Linked DNA regions of Homo sapiens: region 1 is linked to region 2. Evidence: promoter capture Hi-C in human tissues and cell types (Jung and others, 2019). All regions are on one chromosome and are shown on one strand. Each heading gives the region's core, a stretch centred on a gene start or on the middle of the fragment in contact. The rest is flanking DNA. Distances are from core to core; before and after follow the strand shown.

Region 1 (7,008 bases), core at 3,564-6,063, 210 kb after region 2:
TCTTTATGTGTCACTGAGTGTGTGGATGTGGGGGTTCTTCTACCCAGAGGAAAGTGATTTGATCACCTGGAACCAGGTGCTCTGAGAACTGGGGCAGCTTCCCTGACTTGCAGGAGAGGGTGCAGAGACTTCTTCGCTGGCATGTAGCTGCAGCCTAGAAAACCGCTTGGTGGTCCTCGTTCATGAACCTGCCGTTGGGGGTGCTTCATGCTTTATCTTGGTCTCTACCTTGATTAATCTCACCTCCGTTTCTCCGCTCCACTGGACCATTCTCTAGAACCCCTCTAGAACCACTGGACCATTCTCTTCTGTCAGAGTCCAGTGCTTCCAGTCTTTCCTGTGGGCTCTTATCTTCTGGTGCAAAGTTCTTTCTCACCTTCCACAGTCAAAATCACCATACTTACCTAGGCCATACTTACTAGGCTGGAGAGGCAGGTACATCAATCTTTCTTGTTTATTTGTTTGTTTGTTTGAGATGGGGTCTTGCTCTGTCACCCAGGCTGGAGTGCAGTGGCACGATCTCCTCCGCCTCCCGGGTTCAAGTGGTTCTCCTGCCTCAGCCTCCCCAGTAGCTGGGATAACAGTTGCATGCAACCATGCCTGGCTAATTTTTGTATTTTTAATAGAGACGGGGTTTTGCCATGTTGGCCGAACTGCTCTCGAACTCCTGACCTCAGGCAATCCTCCCGCCTCGGCCTCCCAAAATGCTGGGATTATAGGCATGAGCCAGCATGCTCAGCCAGGTACATTGATCTTCTAAGTATTTATTGTTCTGCTCCTTATTCAGTGCTAACATTTTTATTTTCTTATTCTTTTTCCCTGTCACTTGAAGATCGTCACCCAAGCAATAAATCCATTTGGTTGTACTTATTTAATTTTCTCTGACTTTCTAAGGAGTGACACAGCAAAGTGCCTTATCTTGCATTTCTTTCCTTTTCCGTGTTCTAGTTGGAAAGGCTCAGAGTTTGGGAGAAGTTAAACGTGACTCAGAGAATTGCTTTTGATGGTGGTGCCGATACACACATCTTTTGAAGCTTAGATTGGGTATTGTCAATTTAATTTGGAGTCTATCAGCCTGTAGTGTTCTAATCACCTATTTTGAAGCCTTGCTGACGACCCGAGATTCCTTGTTAAACTGCCACTGGAATAAGCATAACACTTTTCATTAAAGGAAAAAGAAAATGTTACTTAAAGTAATAGGCACACCCTTTTATTTTCTTGACAGATAGCAAAGAAAAAAATCTTCTGTCTTTACCTTGACAAGACATGTACCATTGCTGGGAGGTTTTGCTTGTATGAGAACTTCAACGTTAGAATCTAGACATCTCGGAGAATTGAAACTCAACAAGTTTCTCTGTTTTGGGGTGGAGAAAAAGGACAAAAAGTTGTCATATACAGCTAGCTGTCCAAACAGTCAAATACGAAAGCTAATTTATCTTTTAAAAGGTTAATTCTTTGATGCCTCTATCACAGTTAGTGTTAAAATGAAAGCATTGGAAACAAACTCTTTTTCTGTTAGCTCAGATTTTAAAAAAATTCTTTTTGCAGAGATGGGGGTCTCACTATGTTGCTCAGGCTGGTCTTGAACTCTTGGCCTCAAGCGATCCTTCTGCCTTGGCCTCCCAAAATGTTGGAATTACAGGGGTGAGCCACTGAGCCAGATTTTGAATATTTTAATTACTTAACTGCTTGTCTGTCTGGCAATGAGATAAGCGCAGTAGCCAGTGATTACCAACAGTTAAACAGAAGAACAAGTCACATAAACAACACTTATACTTCCTGTAAACCCAATTAAAACCACATTTCAGGTTTGCTCTTATGATTTAGAAGTAAATTTAGAATCAGTTTCATGAATCTTGCAGTATTTTTCAAATTAATGTCTTTAGGCATTTGGACAATGGGCTGTGTGAATGCAAACTGCGTTTTCTTCAATTGCTATCAATTAGAGACAGTTAAGAACTCAACTGATGAAGAAATAGCCACCTGAAAGTGAGCCCACAGGCAAGTCACAGGCCCCTCTTCCTCCTGAAGGTGCACGGGAGACTTCGTTAAAAAAAAAAAAGCTGTAGTAAAATACGTATAAGATAAAAATTTACCATTTTAAGTTTCTTTTTTTTGAAGACGAAGCCTTGCTCTGTCACCCAGGCTGGAGTGCAGTGGTGTGATCACAATTCACTGCAGCCTCACCCTCTCCGGCTCAAGCGATCCTCCCACCTCAGCCTCTCGAGTAGCTGGGACTACAGGCGCACACCACCGTGCCCACTAATTTGTTGTAGTTTTAGTAGAGACGAGATTTTCGCTGTGTTGCCCAGGCTGGTCTCAAATTCCTGGGCTCAAGTGATCCACCCGCATCAGACTCCCAGAGTGCTGGGAAGGTGTGAGCCACCATGCTCGGCCCATTTTAAGCATTGTAAATTGTACAATTTAGTGGCATTAAGTATTTTCACAATGCTGGGCAACCATCATCACTGTTCACTTTCAGAACTTTTTCATCATTCCAAATAGAAATTCCACCCATTAAACACTAACTCCCCAATGTCCCCTTCCCCCACCCTCTGGTAACCTTTATCCTATGTTCTGCCTCTATGAATTGGCCTATTCTAGGTACCTCATAAAAGTAGAATCAATATTATGTGTTCTTCTGTATCTGGCGTCTTTTTCTTAGCATGTTTTCAAGGTTCAGCTGTAGCCCATATCAGAATCTAATTTCTTTTCCTTTTTTTGAGACAGAGTTTCACTCTTGTCACTCAGGCTGGAGTGCAGTGGCACGATCTTGGCTCACTGCAACTTCCGCCTCCTGGGTTCAAGCAATTCTCCTGCCTCAGCCTCCTGAGTAGCTGGGACTACACGCGCGCGCCATCACACCCAGCTAATATTTGTATTTTTAGTAGAGACGGGGTTTTGCCATGTTGACCAGGCTGGTCTCGATCTCCTGACCTCAGGTGATCCACCCACCTTGGCCTCCCAGACTGCTAAGATTACAGGTGTGAGCCACCGTGCCTGGCTAAAAATTCTTTTTTGCACATGATAAACTCACCTATCTTAAGTGTAAAATGAATAAGTTTCAGTAAAACAACAAAAGCTCTTAAGTTTTAGTAAATCCATACATCTGTGCAGCCATCACCGCAGTCCAGTTTTAGAACTTTCCATTCCCCCCTAAACATCCTCCTTGCCTGTTTGTGGTCAGTTCTTGCTCTTACCCTGATCCCCGGCAACTAGTGATGTGATTTACGTCTCTATAGTTTTGTCTTTTCTAGTAATTTCGTATAAAAATTATACAACATGTAGTCCTTTGAGACTGACCTTTTTTTTTTTTGTTTTGTTTTTTTTTGAGACAGAGTCTCGCTCTGTCGCCCAGGCTGGAGTGCAGTGGCGCGATCTCGGCTCACTGCAATCTCCGCCTCCCGGGTTCATGCCATTCTCCTGCCTCAGCCTCCAGGGTAGCGGGCACTACAGGTGCCCACATCACGCCTGGCTAATTTTTGTATTTTTAGTAGAGATGGAGTTTCACCATGCTAGCCAGGATGGTCTCAATCTCCTGACCTCGTGATCCGCACACCTCGGCCTCCCAAAGTGCTGGGATTACAGGCCTGAGCCACCACGCCTGGCCGAGACTGGCTTCTTTTACTCAACATAAAGTTTTTGAGTTCATTCGTGTTGTTGAATGCATCAGTGGTTGGGTTTTTTTTTTGTTGTTGTTTTTTGAGATAGGGTCTCACTGTGATCACCCAGGCTAGAGTGCAATCACAGTTCACTGCAGCCTCCACCTCCTGGGCTCAAGTGATCCTCCCAACGTCATCCTCCTGAGTAGCTGGGACTACAGGCACATGCCACCACACCTGGCTAATTTTTGTATTTTTGTTTTGTATAGACGGGGGTCTCACTATGTTTCCCAGGCTAGTCTCGAACTCCTGAGCTCAAGCAGTCTGCCTGCCTCAGCCTCCCAAAGTGCTGGGACTACAGGCGGGAGCCATCATGCCTGGCCAATAGCTGGTTCTTGTTTTACTGCTAATAGCATTCCATTATAGGGATGTACCACATTTTGTTTATTCATCACCAGTTGATAGAGATTTGTTTCTAATTCGGGGCTACTGTGAATATTGCTGCTGTGATCATTTGTATACAATTCTTGGATGGACATGTGCTTTCGTTCCTCTTGGGAAGATACTTTAAGGAGTGGAATTGCTGGGGTTTTTTTTTTTTTTTGAGATGGAGTCTCACTCTGTCGCCAGGCTGGAGTCACTGCAACCTCCTCCTCCTGGGTTCAAGTGATTCACCTGCCTCAGCCTCCCAAGTAGCTGGGACTACAGGCGTGCGCCACCACGCCCAGCTAATTTTTGTATTTTTAGTAGAGACAGGGTTTCACCATGTTGGCCAGGATGGTCACGAACTCCTCATGATCCACCCACCTCGGCCTCCCAAAGTGTTGTGATTACAGGCGTGAGCCACTGGGCCTGGCCACTGGGTCTTATATTAAACTTATGTTTAACTTATAAAGAAATTGCCAGGCTGTTTTCCAAAGTAGTTCTTGCATTTTTTTACTCTCACTAGCAACATATGAGCGTTTTGGGTTTGCCACATCCTTGTCAGTACTTGGTATTATCCGTCTTTTGTTTGTAGCGATTCTAATGAGTGTGTGGTGGTATCTCACTGTGGTTTTACTTTGCATTTCCTGTACTCTTTTAAAACTGCTTTCCATTATAGAACATGTTGTGTTGTGCTGTTATATATATAAAGCTTCTGCTCACCTGTGAGCTACTCTGTCTAGCTGATTGATCCAGTATTGTGTCCGGGGGCAGGGTACATGGAAAATGCTTAGGGTTTGTTGAGTGAATGAGCAAACTGATACTTTGTAGGAGTGGCCAATTTTCAAATATTTTAGGTAACAGAAAACAGTGGTGAATCAACTCAAAAGATGAGGTACCAGTCAAATCTCTTCCCTTTTGTCAGTTTCTAAGTAGTATTAAACTTGAGTGAACTAAGTTTTACTTTTTTTTCCTTTGCTTTGCTTACCCCTTGGTGAGAGGTAATGGAGAAAATATAGACAGAGCAGGAGGAGGAAAGAAACTCAATCTCGAAATGACTAAGAGCTTGTGGAGCAGCTTGGGAGAGAACCAGCTGGGTTATTGGCTACTCTGTAGTTCCAGGTGTGGGGAATTATTCTCATCAATACCGTGACCGCCTGCCACTCCCCTCTGCCCTCTTTCTTTGTGTTAATTAGAGCAGGGGTCTGCAAACATTTTCTGTAAAGAGAGTAAACAAATATGTCAGGCTTTGTGGGCCAAGAGAAAACATCAGCGACGTTGTGGAGGTGCTTACATAACGACAGACAAAACAAATTTCCATGAATTTTTATCGATGAAACTCCAAACATAGTAATGGGGTACGATTTTCTGTAACACAAGTCTGCTAATGAGAAGAATTGAATTATTTGAGGGAGGAAAACATTTTGCTTAATTGGAAGTTCAGAGTTAATGTTTCCTATCATCATGGTAGAAATGTGGCCTCATTCTTCTACAAAGCTTCTCTGATATGCAGTGGTCTTCCCTCCTGAGAATTCACCAGAATGTACTGGCTTGATTTGCCCTTGATTTGTTGGGGAACTTTTCACATGGGGGAAGCACATTAAGAGTACAGGCTCGGGCTGGGCGTGGTGGCTCACGTCGGTAATCGCCAGCATTTTGGGAGGCCAAGGCGGGCAGATCGCCTGAGGTCAGGAGTTGGAGACCACCCTGGCCAACATGGTGAAACCCCGTCTCTACTAAAAATACAAAAATTACCTGGGCCTGGTGGCGGGCACCTGTAATCCCAGCTACTTGGGAGGCTGAGGCAGGAGAATCGCTTGAACACGGGAGGCAGAGGTTGCAGTGAGCCAAGATTGTGCCACTGCACTATAGCCTGGGACACAGAGCAAGACTCCGTTCTCAAAAAAAAAAAAACAAAACCCAAAAGAGGACAGGCTCTAGGGTAAGACTCTGGGGTCTGAATTCCAGCTCAACAACTTATTAACTATGTGATCTTTCACTACTTACATAACCCATCTAAAAGCTTTGGTTTCCTGATCTATAAAATGAATAATAGTACCTATTTCACAGAGTTGCTGTATAGATTAAACACAAAGATTTAGAATGACATATTATACTTTTTATTCTTCTTTTGATTTTTTTTCAACCATTTAAAAATGTAAAACCATTCTTAAGTCATGGGCAGTATGAAAACGGGTGGCAGGGCCTGCAGGATATAGTTTGTGGACCCTGCATTGGAGTATGAACTTGAATTATTGCCGTTTACTTTAGAAACGATGATTGCTTTTTTCCTAATTGCAAAGCACCATATGTTCACTGCAGAAAACTTGGAAAACACAAAAAAGCACAATAAAACAAAAGCCATTCAGAATCTCCACCATCCAGAGACGTTTCATGAGTAGTATGTTGCCCCATAGCCTTCCAGACAATTGTGTACATAATACACATATTTCATTATTTTTTATTTTCCTTTTTTTTTTTTTTTTTGAGTCAGGGTCTCACTGTGTCACCCAGGCTGGAGTGCACTGGTGCAATCACAGCTCACTGCAGCCTCCACCTCCAGGGCTCAAGCAATCCTCCCACTTCAGCCCCCTGAGTAGCTGGGACTACAGCTGCATGCCACCAGGCCTGGCTAATTTTTATTATTTTTTGTAGAGATGGGGTCTTGCTATGTTGCCCAGGCTGGTCTTGAACTCCTGAGCTCAAGTGATCCTCCTGCTTTGGCTTTCCAAAGTGCTGGGTTAACAGGTGTGAGCCTCTGTACCCAGCCTACACATATTTCAAAGTAAAACCCAAGCCCATACTATGCATACTGCTTTGTATCTTTTTCACCTATTAATATGCAATGCTTGTCATTAATATTCTTCTATAACCTGAATTTTAATGGCCACATACTATTCTGTTATACTGTGTTAAAATTTACTAAAGCAATTTCCAACAACATTAATGCTGTTTTGAATTTTTCACCATTAGACTGAACTCA
Region 2 (6,778 bases), core at 2,492-4,991:
TGTAAGATCTGGGCTACTTACTTGTAGGTCCCTCTGCACTATTCTTAGCCTTTCATGAATATGCTGTAGATTTTTTAATTACACGAGGCCCTTTGCAAGTAAAAATGACTTTTCCTGTTGTTTTGGCATCACTCCTCTTCCAGTGAAAACTGGACAGTCTATAAATATATACCAACTTTAAGACAATGCATTTTAATATCTATGGCATTAGAAAATAAAACTTCTTGTTAACAAATGCAATAATCAAGTTTACCAGCTAATAGAAAGGTACTTACTCCCAAAAACTACAGCCTTACCTAAAAATAGTGTCCTAGCTTCCCAGCCAAAAGGACAGACTAAAAAAGCTCTGTCTTTATTCAGCTCAGAGACACAGACTTCTACCTCACCACAACCTTCAATACTATGGCATTTCCCATTTTAGAATACTTTGTGTAACAAGTTGTTCAGTGGCCAACCACTAACTTCGCTTTGAAATGAATACTAACACTTCACAGAGTCTACATGTGTGAGAACTGTGGAAAATGTCTTGACACAATTCAGGTCAAACAACACTAGCCACACAAGATTACCTACTTCTAAGTATTCCATTTTAGACTACAAACAAACATCTCCACAGTCAAAAAGCAGACCACTGGCTCCTTTCCACAAAATTATCTGTAGGCTTCAAGAAAAAAGATAAGGCCAGGCATGGTGGCTCACGCTTGTAATCCCAGCACTTTGGGAGGCCAAGGCGGGCAGATCACCTGAGGTCAGGAGCTCGAGACCAGCCTGACCAACATGGTGAAACCCTCTCTCTACTAAAAATACAAAATTAGCCGGGTGTGGTGGCGTAAGCCTGTAATCCCTACTCGGGAAGCTGAGGCAGGAGAATTGCTTGAACCTGGAAGGTAGAGGTTGCAGTGAGCTGAGATCGCGTCATTGCACTCCAGCCTGGGCAACAAGAGTGAAACTCTGTCTCAAAAAAAAAAAAAAAGAAAAAAAATCTATCTATCTATATACATAGATACACACATATATACACATATATACATATATACACACATATCTATACACACATATATGTATATATACACACATATATGTATATATACACACATATATGTATATATACACACATATATGTATATATACACACATATATAAAGTTCAAATTGGGAGGTCTAAGGCAGGAATATGCCTCCATCTGCAAAATAAAAATAAATTTAAAAATCCATATTTGCTCTGCCAAAAATAAAAATTATATGAAATAAACATAAGCACTGCTGAGTTTCAAACACAAGAAAATGCAGTATGTGCACTTACAAAAGAATCTTGGTTTATGTCCACCTTCCTTTCCTAAGTTTTTATTTTTTTAAGGCAAAATGTCAATTACATGCCTCAATCTAGAAAAAAAAAAAAGGATAGCTTATTCTTCTTAAACAGATGTTGTGATAGACACGAAAAATTTGTGAGAGGATTTCAAAATCCAGAGGCCCAGATGTGTGGAGAAACAACAAAAAAAAAACTACAGTAACCAATCGACCACAATTACTTATTATTTTTCTAAAAAAAAACTTAGTAAAACATTTTAAGTTGAGAAAACTCGTGAAAAATGTAAAAGTAGCAAACTTCTCTTCCTCTCTATAGCACAGAAAACTATTCACTAACACTGTATCAATAATATCCTTTAAATCCAAAGCATTACAAATTAGATTAAATAAAGCACTTTGAATAAATTCACACACCGTGTGTGATCAGGACATAATGACAAACTAGTCTATTTCCTAATAAGCTAAACAGATCTCAACACTATCATCTTTATTTCAAAATAATTATTAAAGAGAAAAGTACTACTCCATTTTTCAGAAAATAAAAGCAGGAGTGATTGACCTGCCTAATTCTTTCTAACGGAAAGGGTATACTTTACGAGTCCCACAAACCAGGTACACACAAAATCCATATACATAATCACCGGGACTAAACGTACAGTAGGTGATAGACACCAAAACACAAATAAAATTAAGACATCCAAGTAAAGTTACGCAAGAAAATTTGAATAGGCAAACTATAATTATCCCTGGTGAAGATACTGATCAAGAATAGCTGCAAGTAACATTTGGCTCTTAGTTAAGTACCACTATGTTTGAGTATGTTGGAGCAACTGAAAAGATTGGTACATTCAACATATTTTTCCTTTCTAAATCTAGCCCTGCCCATAGACCCACTGACTGAGTGATACATTTGGAAAACAAAGATGGCCCCATCAAATTACTCAGTTTCAGCCTTACTCTTACCAGTTGATTAAAATAAAGAAGGAAAAAAAGGAAATCATTTTTAACTGCAGTCTCACCTTACACATCTCACCAGCACTGTAGTTCATTAGTGATCCATTACTTCATCCAAATCCTGAGGCAAATAGAAAAGATGTTTCCATACAACACCAGTAACAGACATTATCAGTAGCAAACATTTTATCAGCCTGAAGTGAAAGGGCATCTACATTTAAAATGGAAAAAGTTACAAAAATGGTACAGTGTGCAGCTTTGCAAATGAGTCTGGTTTTTGACCTTAAAACATTTCCTTTCAGTAAGGTAAAAGAATAGATTATACAATGCTCTTAAAACTCAAAAACATAATAAAATCATCTTTTTCAACACAGACTGACCTTACTTTCAAAAACATAAAGAAATGAAGGAGAGGAAATTTCATTAATATGAGTTTAAGAGAGAGCAAAATTAAGAACAAACTAGGCAAGACAGACAACTCCTCCCTCCTTCCCCCGCTCCAGGAATCCACTGTCTCTGAAGTTACACTTTTTATTATATTAATGATTTGCCTGAGAAGTGTTAAGTTGTGAGGGAGAAGGAATGACAATTTTTGAACTGCAAACAAAACCTGAGGATCCCGATCCAAGAACAATCAGAGGACCCTGGCTTCCAGCCCTGTCTGAAGATTTCTCAGCAAAGGCGAGGGTGCAGAAGGCTCCAATAATTTAGGGGAGAGGAATCGAAGTTCCCTAGGTAAGACTGCAGTCTGTGAGCCCTTGAAAAGGGTACTGGAGTACTCTCAAGGAATCTCCAGGAAAAGAGAGCCTATCTTTATTTTTGTTGATGTGCTTGTGGGCCAAAGAGCATTTCCGAGGAGGGGGCGGGGAAAGGGGGGAAGAAAGTGAATCTCGGGCCGAGAGCCCTCCGCGGGGGAGGGAGGGGGCGCACGCCTGACCCACTTTTCCCCACGCCCCCGCTCCAGCCCCCACCCCACCCGGTGGAAGTCCGAGGCCTGAGGGGGGGCATCGAGCGGGGCGTGGGAGGCCCGCACGCTCCCCACCCCCAGCCGCGACCCGGAGGAGGGGAACGTGCCGGGAGGCTCGAGTCCCCCTCCCAGAGTGCTCTGGGCCGGAGAAACCTCCCGCAGGCTCCCGGGCCAGGCGTGCAAGGCCCCCTCTCCTGCCAGGGCCCAGGACGCTGCGGGCCCCAGCGGAGGGGAAGGGGACTAAGTAGGGGAAGAAGCTGTAAACAGCCCCAGCGTCCGGGCCTCGCCTCGAAGAGCCGCGCTTCCCAGGCCCAGCCGCGGGCCGCCCAGGCCCCCAGCCTGCCCCGGGGCCGCCGCGCCCGGGGTCCGGGACACCGGAGGGGAGTCGGGTCCCCTCCCCGGAGAGCTCCGGGAGCTCGCGGAGCGGCCCCAGGAGCAGAGAAGGGGGAAGTCAGGACTTACCTGTCATTACTTTCTACGCCATCTTGGATCCACTTGTCAACGTCCCCACAAAGCATTATGGGTAAGAAAGAGCCTTTAAAGTGACTCCCCCCGGCCCCCGACTCCCGCCTCCCGCCGCCGGCGCCGCCCCCTCCGGCCGCGCCTCCCGCCCGGAAAGTTGCCCCGGGTGGACTGCCGACCCCGGCGCCCGCAGCTGGCCCCTTCCCCTCCCCCGGGCTGACGGCATTGAAAATTCACCCGCATTTTTAAAACGTGGCTTTGGGGTTTTCTCCCTTTCTCCTGCCCCGGCCTCCCTGCCCCCACGCCCGGTCCTCTCGCCTCGCCGCGTTCCTGCCCGGGCAGACGCCCCGCGTCTGCATTGAATCAACCCGAGGTTTCCTTGCCGCCCGCGGCGCGGCGCGGAGCTGCTCGCGGATTTATTTGTGCGCGTGGATGTGAGCGTTTCTGCTCCTGCGGCCGCGCTTCCAGGAAGCCCGCGAGCGGCCGGGGTCGCCTTCAGAGGCCGCGCAGACCAGCTCCGCACCCGCCGCCCGGAGAGGTGCCTCTGCCCTGGGAAACCGCCCCGGGGCCGTTGGGCTCCGGGAACTGGGAGGACGCCGTGTCCCCGAGTCCACCAGCGTCGAAGCACGATTTAAAAAAAAAAATTGAGCCAAATGCAACTTTTTACCCCTTGTTTACTCTGTGTCCCGCGGTCTCCTCCTCCGGGCGGGTAACGTGATCCGCGACCCTCTAGGTGGGGACCCCTCCCCTAGGAATGTGGCTCCAGGCTCCGCGGAGCCACCCTGGGAGCGTCCGGGCTGCGGACTGTGACTCCGGGGCAGGTAATCCGGGGCGCCGGCTGCGGGCTCCGGGCGGGGCGGGGCGCGGAGGCAGCCAGGGCTCGGGGGAGGGTCCCGGGCGGAAAGCAGGGTGCGCCAGTCCGGGTCCACCTGGCGGGTCGGGGGAGAACCGCGGGCGCCGCTGCAGCTCGGGAGGCTGGAGGTGGGGACGCCCGGCGTCTCCGGGCTGCGACCCGCTGCGCTGGAAAGTGTGGGGCGCCTTGGCGCGGGCTGAGGTCTCTGACCCGGGCGAGTACCCCCAGCCCGCCGGCCACACTGCTGCCGGGCATCCTCTCCCCGCGACACCACGCCCGCTTTCGGCTGCGCGGGGCGAGCAGCGTACTGACCCCGGCGTCCAGCCGCCCAGGTCCCCCCAGCAACGGAGGCCCCTTGGTCAGCCTCCTCCCGCGCTCTCCGCAGAGCCTCTGGTCCCTGCTTTGCTGTCTTTGGAGGCCTGCTCCAGTTGCTTTTTTTTTTTTCCAAGCAAGTTTTTACAACAAGGAGATACCCAAAAGAAAATTCTCCAAGACAGGAATGCTTGCGAATTGTATTCGGTACAAAATGCTGTTGAACGGCTCTACCTTTAGAAGACCGCAGAAGCACTGGCATTAAAACCCTCTTTCGGTGCACGGGGAGGGCCTGGGGCCTTGGATCTACCCGAGGATTTTACGCTCCTCCAGACCCTATCAACAGCCTCACTAGGAACGTGAACGGTGGCAGACAGGAGCCCTGCCCCTGGGGAGCCAAAAACTCCACCAGGCAATTGTCCCGGTCTGATGAGAAGGTGTAGACACATTAAGGGATTGGCCCCGGGTCACTCGTGAAGGAGGGAACGAGGTAGTGAGTCATTCCCAGCCAAGAACGCAGCGTGCTGGGGAGCAACCTCCCCTGAGTCACCTGCTTCTCACCTCGGAATAAGTGGAGAAACTGGAGCCTGGAGCCAGGTTCTTAGACGGCCCAGCAAGGTAGCCACCAAGGGCATGGGCTAGGCTGGGGGGAGGCAGCGCCCCTCCTGCTGGAAAAGGGAATGCTTGGCCCGTCTGAAGAAGGCTCCAATGTCTCTTTCCAGGGTACCCCAGGTGCTTCTTTTCCAATTCCTCTTTTGCACTTATTTAGCCACTGGTATGCACTGGCTTAATGGTGGTTTTGTTTGCATGGCACCTTTAGGTATGTGGTCTGAGTTTATGCAAAAGTAATGACAAAAGCCGCAGTGACTTTTGCACCCACCTAATATAAGTAAACAGGAAATAAGTTGAGGGCAAGGACTGTGTCTCCCAAACACGTTTCTTTGATAAGCAGCCTTTCTTTGCCTTGTATAGGCATTGACCCAAATAAGTGTTCAGTTTGTGTGACTGCCCAACCCATTCACTGCCTCCAGTGTGTGCATCCAAGCCCAACCTTGTCAAATACACCGCCTGTTGCCTGAGCTGGGACGGCCTGCCGACTCTTCTCCCTGCCCCTCCTGGATACCTACAATGCATCCTCCACCTGACCAACCCTGTGATATTTTATGAATGTAAATCAGATCGAGACTTCTCTGCTGAAACCTTGGAATAAAACCCAGATTCCCAACCCTGGCCTACAAGCTCCTGTGTGAGGTGGTCCCACCTTCCCTCACCAGCAGTGGTCCAGGCTGGCCTTCTCTCTTTCCCTGCAGCGCCCCAAGCTTCCTTCCAGTGAGAACCCTATTCCCCCAGATCTTCTGATTATCTTTTCTTTGACAGAGTCTTGTTCTGTCGACCAGGCTAGAGTGCAGTAGCGCGATCTCAATTCACTGCAACCTCCGCCTTCTAGGTTCAAGCTGTTCTCTGCCTCAACCTCCTGAGTAGCTGGGATTACAGGCGTCCGCCACCGCGCCCGGCTCATTTTTGTATTTTTAGTAGAGACAGGGTTTCACCATCTTGGCCAGGGTGATCTTGAACTACTGACCTCGTGATCCATGCGCCTTGGCCTCCCAAAGTGCTGGGATTACAGGCGTGAGCCACCACGCCCGACCCATCATCTTTTCATCATATTTAGGTCCCCTCAAAGAGGACTTTTGTGATCCCCCTACCCAGACCAAGTCACTCTGAACACTTGACCTGTGTTAGAAGTTCTCTTGTTTAGGTCGGACGCTGTGGCTCATGCCTGTAATCCCAGCACTTTGGGAGGCCAAGGTGGGTGGATCACAAGGTCAGGAGTTCAAGACCAGCCTGGCCAAGATGGTGAAACCCTGTCTCTACTAAAGGTACAAAAATTACAGCGCGCCTGTAATCCCAGCTACTCGG

The links. Contacts are between HindIII fragments. The study calls those that stand out against the background at their distance.
Region 1: a fragment that was not itself captured here is called in contact with the fragment with the promoter of HELZ in region 2 in 1 of the 25 tissues and cell types used here (adrenal gland).

What each region holds. Positions count from the first base shown.
Region 1 is chr17:67,448,326-67,455,333 of GRCh38, forward strand. The region is part of intron 1 of PITPNC1 (phosphatidylinositol transfer protein cytoplasmic 1); the gene reads left to right. Among named protein-coding and RNA genes, the nearest start is that of MIR548AA2, 20 kb to the right of the region's middle. The HindIII fragment of the contact is 3,857 bases long and covers 2,886-6,742 here.
Region 2 is chr17:67,241,455-67,248,232 of GRCh38, forward strand. It overlaps HELZ (helicase with zinc finger), which reads right to left and starts at 3,742. Exons shown (of 33, transcript NM_014877.4): 1 at 3,694-3,742; 2 at 2,330-2,385. HELZ-AS1 (HELZ antisense RNA 1) reads left to right here and starts at 3,322. Exons shown (of 4, transcript NR_136398.1): 1 at 3,322-3,754. RefSeq lists enhancers at 2,966-3,953, 3,954-4,940 and silencers at 3,270-3,319, 3,420-3,909, 4,460-4,549, 4,560-4,759. The HindIII fragment of the contact is 25,130 bases long and covers 1-6,778 here.